3 separate regions of the Homo sapiens genome follow, and regions 2 and 3 are each linked to region 1. Evidence: promoter capture Hi-C in 16 types of primary human blood cells and fetal thymus (Javierre and others, 2016). All regions are on one chromosome and are shown on one strand. Each heading gives the region's core, a stretch centred on a gene start or on the middle of the fragment in contact. The rest is flanking DNA. Distances are from core to core; before and after follow the strand shown.

Region 1 (2,630 bases), core at 37-2,536:
ATTTCATACCTACTCTTCAGGGTTGTTTGGAGGATTAATAAGCAACCATGTGTAAAGGGTTAAGACCTGGGTCTCAGAAGGCACTATCTGAATGTCTGCTATTATTGTAGTGTATCGCCCAATATTTTGGAGGGCAGTGATAAGGGGAGGGAGGGAATCTAGAATGAAAGTTTCCTGTTTGGAGAGTTCCATGGTACAGGTCCTAGGCCCGAAGTCAAATTGTTTCCATGTTTACTGTGCCGTTTGAGAGGGCATTGCCAACTTGCTCGTTGTGGCACTTTCCTCTGAAACTTGAGGAGAAACATTATCGCTCTCTGGATCACCTTCAGTTTGCTTCAACTCTTCTGGAGCTATTTCTGAAACCGCTGGGCTAAGAAGTTCTCTATGCAGCCCTTAGAAAAGAAATTATAAACCCCGTTTAATAAACCCCTACCCGGAGTCTTCTCCTAAGAGGCAAAGCGGAGGCCAGTGAGGCAGAAACGGTGGCCTAGAAAACAAGCATTCCAGTCCTGTCACTAACTACACAGGCACTGTGGAAAACCAAGGGGCTACGTGCTCAGCTCAGGCTCTGGAGTGCACCCAGGTTCAAATCCCAGTTCCGTTCTTAATAGCTGGATGGGCTAGGGCAAACAACAAGCTGTCCGGGCTTTGTTCTCCCCTGCAATGTGGGAAAAACACCATCAAGCCTGCAAGATCTTCATGGATTACACAAGAAAAGATTAGTGAAATAATGAGCACAACAGTACGAAACAAGCGCTCGGTGTCTGTGGTTAGCAGCGTACTCCTGCGGGGATGGCCAAAATGAATTCCCTGAAACTACAGGCTGAATTTCTCCCAGCCTCCTCCGCGTCTCGAACCCTCTCGGACTGAGAACACGTGAGGCAACAGGTGGCGGCTCCCGGATCTCCTGCCCTTGCTTTCCTGGGGCCGCAGCTCCTCAGGACAGGGAACACCCAGCTGAAAATAGCCGGGCCGCAGCTCCGGGGTGGCTAAGCCCAGCCCGGAACAGAGCCCGGCACGTGCTGGGGCGGGCCCGTCCCTCCCGGCCCAGCCCCTCAGCCCGGGATCCGTTACCTGCTCGGCCTCCGCCAGCCACAGCCACAGCTGCCGCCATGTCCGGAATTTATACCTGTCGCTAAACACGAAGCACATCTCCGGGCTGGCATAGCGGGAGGCAAGAGGTGAGCGGTAGCTGTCGGGCGAACCATGATCGCCTCCAGCCGCCATCCCAACCCTGCGACCCCGCCAGGGTGGACTGGACCAGGGAAGAGCGGAAGCGGAAACCTGGAGGCCAGGGCAGGACGGGGCGGGGCGGGACTTCCTTCACGCGGTCTCGCTCTCTGGGTTCCGGGCGCCCTGGGCGCTGCCGGCTGCGGAGAATCTCCGCTGCTTCTGCCTGAGAATTGACTTGGTTCGCTTCTTTGACCAGAAACATGATTGATGCTTCCTACGTTACTTAGCCGCGCTACACTTTAGTTTTCCTGTCTGAAAAGAGGTACATTAAGACTTCCTTGGCCGGGCGCGGTGGCTCACGCTTGTAATCCCAGCACTGTGGGGGCCCCAGACCGGAGGATCGCTTGAGGCCGACAGATCGAGACCAGCCTGGGCAACACAGGGAGACCCTCCCGTCTCTAAAAAACAAAAAGCAAAAAAAAAAAAAAAAAAAAAGGCCTGCCTTTCGGGTTGTGCGGATTCAGTGTTAGAGCGGTGTCTGGCACACTTGGAAGGCCGTGTGTACGCTTGCTGTTACTCTTATTACTGTCGCCCCACCCACTCCTGCCCGCGGCGCACCGAGCTCGGCTCTAAGGAGAAATGAAGATACCCAAGGGAAATCGGCATTTACTGCGCCCCCAGTGAGCCGGCTGCGGTGGCCTACGCCTGTAATCCCAGCACTTCGGGAGGTCGAGGCAGGCAGATTTCCTGAGCTTAGGAGTTTGAGACCAGCCTGGGCAACACGTGAAACCCTGTCTCTACTAAAATACAAAAAATTAGTCGGGCATGGCGGCCTGTACCTGTAGTCTCAGCTACTTGTGAGGCTGAGACAGGAGAATTTCTTGAACCCGGAAGGCGGAGGTTGCAGTGAGCCAAGATCGCGCCACTGCACTCCAGCCTGGGCGACAGAGCGAGACTCCGTCTCCAAAAAATAAAAGAATTAAATAAATAAATAGAAATAGAAACACTCAAGTGGCCCCCCCCCTTTTTTTTTTTTTTGACAGGGTCTTGCTATGTTGTTCAGTCTGGAGTGCCAGTGGGGTGATCACACAGGAAAGGGTTCATCTGGAGCTGTAAGAGCCAGGTGTCTCAGCTGGGCACGGTGACTCACGCCTATAATCTCAGCACTTTGGAGGCTGAGCTGGGCAGATCGCTTGAGTCCAGGAGTTGGAGACCAGCCTGAGCAACATGATGAAACACTGTCTCTACAAAAAATACAAAAATTAACTGGGTATGGTGGTGTGCACCTGTAGTCCCAGCTACTTGGGAGGCTGAGGTGGGAGAATCACTTGAGCCCAGGATGTTGAGGCTGCAGTAAGCCATGATTTTGCCACTACAGCTTAGGCAACAGTGAGACCCTGTCTCAAAAACAAAACAAACGAAAAGAGCCGGGTGCCTGCACCCTCTCCACCTGCACT
Region 2 (2,630 bases), core at 96-2,595, 810 kb after region 1:
TCTGTAAAATGCAAAAGACAATTCCTACCTGGAAGGGTAGGGGGGATAAACAAGTTAACAAATGTAAAGCACGTAGAACAGCACAAATGCTTGAGTTTGTGTTGGTTGTTATTATTACTCTCTAGCCGATGGAGCTTAAACGGTGTGGTCTATCCCGGAGGACGAACTCCAGGTCCCACACTCTGTGGTGTCAAGTACACAGAAGGCCCTCAGAACCCGGCTGAGTGAACCCAGTGGTCCCTTCTGATTCACCGTTCACTTATTGCGTGTCTTCTCCATGCCAGGTGCTGGGCTGCCAGCTGCAGATGGAGCAGCGAACAAGCCCAGGGCTCCTCCCCCAGGTAAGCAGTGTCACTTCTAGGCCAGAGGGGCTCAAATGTTTTGGTCTAAGAAGCTTCTTACATTTAAAACTTCAGAATCCCCTCACTCCTGTAATCCCAGCACTTTGGGAGGCTGAGGTGGGCGGATCACTTGAGGTCCGGAGTTCAAGACCAGCCTGGCCAACATGGCAAAACCCCGTCTCTACTAAAAATTTTTTAAAAAGAAAATTAGCCGGCCGTGGTGGCGGGCGTCTGTAATCTCAGTTACTCGGGAGGCTAAGGCAAAAGAATCGCTTGAACCCGGGAGGCGGAAGTTGCAGTGAGCCGAGATCGCTGCACTCCAGCCTGGGCGACAGAGCGAGATTCCGTCTCAAAAAAAAAATTAATTTAATTAAATAAAATAAATTTTAAAAAATTCAGGATCCCAAAGAACTTTTGTATGTAGGCAACTGATATTTGCCATACTAGAAACTAAAACAAAAATTTTACATATTCATTAATTCACTTAAAATGACAATAAACCCATTGCTTGGTAACATAAACAACGTATTTTATGAGAAATAATTGTAGTTTTCAAAACAAAGATATGTCTTTAATGTCTGGCTTAAGGGAAGACAACTGGATTCTCATGCTGCACTCAACCTGTGCGATACCTAGTGCTGGTTGAAGTATATGAAAAACACTCCGCCCTGTCCCCATCCTAGCCCGCCACGGAGCCACGAGACCCGAGAGGATTGGCCAACCCGGCGGAGCAGGTTGCGGACGGCTTCCGGGGAAGGAGGGGACTGAGCGCCAGGAGCCAGGTAGATTGGGATTGAGTAACACATGTGTCTTTCTGCGCCTTGGACCCGCCTCCAGTTTCCGCCCCTTCTTCCGCTCAAGTGTAAACCCCTAACGCATGCGTCCTAAGAAAGATGGGCACTTCCGCCCATCCCCCTCCGGATCCCTCTGTTCGGGCTCGGGTTTCCGCCGAGACGACAGGGACTGCCAGGTCGGAAGTAGTGTGAGGCTCGTGGGCGGAGCCAAGCGCCGCCATGTCCGCCGCCCTGCTGCGGCGGGGCCTGGAGCTGCTGGCGGCGTCCGAGGGTGAGGAGGGCTGGCCAGGGGACGTCCGGCGCGGGCAGGAGGATGGTAGTGGCTGCGGGCGGGAGCCCTGGATGGAAAACAATCCAGGCCGGGCTTAGCCCCAGTGGCATGGGAACGCTGCGCGCCCTCTGACCTGGGTCTCTTCCTCTCTCTTCCCCTACAGCCCCCCGGGACCCTCCAGGTCAGGCCAAGCCGAGAGGGGCTCCGGTGAAACGGCCCCGGAAGACGAAGGCAATTCAGGCCCAGAAACTGCGGAACTCGGCCAAGGGAAAGGTGCCCAAGTCGGCACTGGGTAAGTTCGGGAAGGGGCTGAAAGTGCTGCCTCCGGTGCTGGGACCTGCGCCCCAGAGGAGGTGGCGCTTGAGGCAGGGCTTGAAGCGTTCGCCCGGTATTGCTAGACCTACTGTGTGCCAGGCGCGGAGCGGGGCCCTGGACATACGAAGGTGACAGAACACGCCACCGTCCTGGTCCTCGTGGACTACGGCCCTAGTGGGGAGAGAAGCATCAAAGAATATCAAACCCAGTGTGTCATTGCTAAGTGCATTGAAGCCTATGAATTAAAAGACTACGGTACTCTGATGGGGACTTAGGCCAAGTCAGCCTTCTCTGAGGAAGCGACATTTCAGCCGAGAGCTGAAGGATGTATAAGAGTGAGCTAGGTGAAAAGTAGGAGAATATTCTAGGAAGAATAGTATGTGCAAAGGTCCTGAGTCAGAAAGGAGGTTGTTGCCTTTGAGAATTTGAAAAAATAAAGGCTGGTAAAGGTGACCTAGTGAATGAGGATCAAAGATGGAGCATTTAAACACATTCACTAACACTCTGTACCAGGTGCTGATTCTAAGTGCTGTACAAATGTAAGCTCGTTTGATCCTTACAGCAGCCCTTTGAGGTCGATACTACTATCACCCCCGTTTTACAGATTCAGAAAAAGGCACCTGCCCAGGTGGTACAGGCATTGTGGCTGCCCGGGCATTGTGTCTCCAGAGTGCTGCTATTACCTACTCCATTGAAATAGGACATGCTGTGGCCTGGGCAGTGGCTATAGCAGCAGAGATAACAAGAGAATTGTGCAGGTGGAAAATATGTTAAAGAGGGGGCAGCAGAGAATTTCAGCCTTTAGAGGGGTTTTAGTGGTGAATTGGCTGTGAAGGTGGAGCCTAGTTTCTTGGGGGACGTAGTGTCACTTAATAGACATAAAGACTTTCGGAGGGGCTGGTGTAGGCA
Region 3 (2,630 bases), core at 54-2,553, 790 kb after region 1:
CCATGGCTGGAGGACATTACGAGATGGAAAATTCTGGAAGTGCTGACTGTGGGTAAAACAGGGAGGAGATTTGGAATGAGACCCTAGGGAGGATGGGCCAGACGCTGGGCTTCCCATATGTGATGGGGCAGGCTGAACCCCAGCACCTGTGGGCACCTTGATGGGTTTGAAGAGGCCAAGATGGACCCAGAGCCCAGTCTGGAAGGTAGTGGCTGGATTGTTCTGCAACATAAAGAGAGAAGAATCAGAAGGTCCAGAGAGAAAAGAGTGGAGAGGGAAGGGAGAGGAGAGAAGAGATTGCAAGATGGAGGAGACCAGGGACACGCAGAGGGGGACGCACCTGGGGGGATCCCCCAGAAGCGGGGGGACTTCGATTTGAAGTGGTTTGCATGGCTGCAGTGTCAGTGTCCCTCCCCTGCCAAGTCCCCAGGAACATCTGCTGGACCCACAGGGGTACTCAGTGTGTGGATATCAAGAAAGGAGCCGAGCTCCCCCTCAGTGCTGACATGAACAAGAACAGCCCTGGGCATGTCACCCAGTCCATCCCCAACTGCACTAAGCCAGCAGAAGCAAAAGGTCAAAGCCAGAGGGGTCCAGGAGAACACTGGCAGCCCCCCAAGATTGCTGCATCCCTAGGAATCTGGGCAGGAAGTGTGGGGGTGGAGCTGGCTTATGTAGCTGAGAAGCAGGGAGCCCCTGGGCCCGGCTGCAGGTGTCCACTTCTTCTATCAGCCCACTTAACCCCCAGCAGTCCTAGGTGACAGGGATCATGCAGCTCCACTTACACTCGGGAGAACCAGAATCCGGAGAAATTAAGTAAATTGCCCAGAGTCACACAGCTAATAAGTAGCATAAACAGGATTCTATGCCAGAGTGCATGTGTGTGCGCATGTGTGTGTGTGTGAGAGAGAGAGAGAGAGAATCTATCTCTGCCCAGGACAAAAGCCTATCTATCTGCCCAGGACAAAAGCCTGGAGTGGGGGCAGAGCATAGCTGGGGACAGACCCCAGGAACCTCAAGTTCCTGCCAGGTCGGAGGTCCCTGACTCTCAACCAAAACAGGTAGCTGATGCCTGAGGAGCTTCCTGGACAGGGCTCAGAGAATCCAGTCTCTACTAACAATACAGAAATTAGCCGGGCGTGGCAGCATGCGCCTGTAATCCTAGCTACTCGGGAGGCTGAGGCAGGAGAATTGCTTGAGCCCAGGAGGCAGAGTTTGCAGTGAGCCAAGATCGCGCCACTATACTCCAGCCTGGGCAATAGAGCGAGACTCCATGTCAAAAAAGGAAAAAAGAAAGAAATTGAGTTCAAGAGAGCTGGTGTGACAACAGTTACACGCCAGGCCATCACTCAGTGATGTTTATTGACCACCTACTAAGTGCCACGTGTCAGGTATACAGAAACAGATGAACCCCAGCCCTGTGGGGAGAAGCCACATCTGGACAACCTGGATTTAAGCTCGGAAGAAAGGAGCTGGGAGCCCCCAGGAGGAAACGATATTTTCTGGGGTCAGACCAGGAGGGCCAAAGAAGGCTCCACAAAGGGAGAGACAGTGAAGGCCTAGAAGGGACAACAGGCAGTGGGCAGATCTGAGTTTTCCTAGCCAAGTATTGGAGGAAGGGCATCTCAAGCCAAGGGACAGCAGGAGCAAAGGCCCGGAGAGCATCAGGTTAAAAAAGACATGGGGGTCTGGGCGCAGTGGCTCACCCCTGTAATCCCAGCACTTTGGGAGGCTGAGGCAGGTGGATCATCTGAGGTCAGGAGTTCGAGACCAGCCTGGCCAGCTTGGTGAAACCCCGCCTCTACTAAAAATACAAAAATTAGTCAGGCAGGGTGGCAGGCGCCTGTAATCCCAGCTACTCGGGAGGCTGAGGCAGGAGAATCTCTTGAACCCAGGAGGCGGCAACCTAGGTTGCAGTAAGCTGAGATCATGCCATTGCACTCTAGCCTGGGCGACAGAGCAAGACTATCTCAAAAAAAAAAAAAAAAGAAAGAAAGAAAGAAAAGAAAATGACACTGGGGAAGAGGTGGAAGAGGGACCGGAAAGCCCAGCTTAGGAGCGACGGAGCCAGAGAGGAGAGTGGACGATGAAAAGAGGAAAAATCACCTTGAGGTGCAGGGGGTGGGGACCCTCTGCCCCTGCTGGCTTCTGTCCACCTCTGTCTCTGTCTCTTTGGGCGTCTCTCTCCTGCTTCCTGTTTCCCTTGCCTGGCTCCCTTCCTCCTTGGCGTTTCTCTGTCTTACCCTTTCTCTGGCTCTCTCCATGCCCCTCTGTCTCTCTGTCTCCCTAACTCTTCCTGTCTGTCTCTTGCTCTCCCGTCTCCCCGCTGTGTGTGTGTATGTACATCTCTCACGCACGTGTGCCCTCACACTCTTCCTTTCTGCCACTCCTGCTGCTTGGAGATAGAATAATAGAGCAGGCAACTATCCCTTTTATCCTCAGCTGGACAAAGTCCCGGCACCCGGGCAGTCAGGCTTCCAGGCAAACACCCTCAATGTCGCCATCAAGGAGAGACCATGAGGCCTGTGTGGTGGGAGTGGGTCTCAGGCTGGAGGCGCTGTAGTTGGCCAGGTCATTACTGTAAGCCTGGGCCCTGCCCTGTGGTCTTTCAAGCCCTGATGGCTTAGGAT

The links. The method cuts DNA at HindIII sites, captures the fragments that hold promoters and counts their contacts. A CHiCAGO score of 5 or more calls a contact.
Region 2: the fragment with the promoter of RPS19BP1 here is called in contact with the fragment with the promoter of ADSL in region 1 in 4 of 17 cell types (megakaryocytes, non-activated CD4 T cells, naive CD4 T cells and 1 more); the score reaches 6.4 in megakaryocytes.
Region 3: a contact is called between a fragment that was not itself captured here and the fragment with the promoter of ADSL in region 1, in 1 of 17 cell types (erythroblasts). The highest score is 6.1, in erythroblasts.

The regions. Positions count from the first base shown.
Region 1 is chr22:40,345,156-40,347,785 of GRCh38, reverse strand. ADSL (adenylosuccinate lyase) reads right to left here and starts at 1,286. Exons shown (of 13, transcript NM_000026.4): 1 at 1,075-1,286. The coding sequence starts at 1,227. RefSeq lists enhancers at 231-743, 744-1,257, 1,258-1,771 and a silencer at 944-1,033. The HindIII fragment of the contact is 11,540 bases long and covers 1-2,630 here.
Region 2 is chr22:39,531,463-39,534,092 of GRCh38, reverse strand. RPS19BP1 (ribosomal protein S19 binding protein 1) reads left to right here and starts at 1,345. Exons shown (of 4, transcript NM_194326.4): 1 at 1,345-1,406; 2 at 1,570-1,698. The coding sequence starts at 1,355. RefSeq lists enhancers at 1,151-1,200, 1,251-1,310, 1,100-1,615, 1,616-2,131 and silencers at 1,421-1,580, 1,761-1,890. The HindIII fragment of the contact is 8,920 bases long and covers 397-2,630 here.
Region 3 is chr22:39,550,544-39,553,173 of GRCh38, reverse strand. No RefSeq gene overlaps it. Among named protein-coding and RNA genes, the nearest start is that of CACNA1I, 19 kb to the left of the region's middle. The HindIII fragment of the contact is 2,704 bases long and covers 1-2,630 here.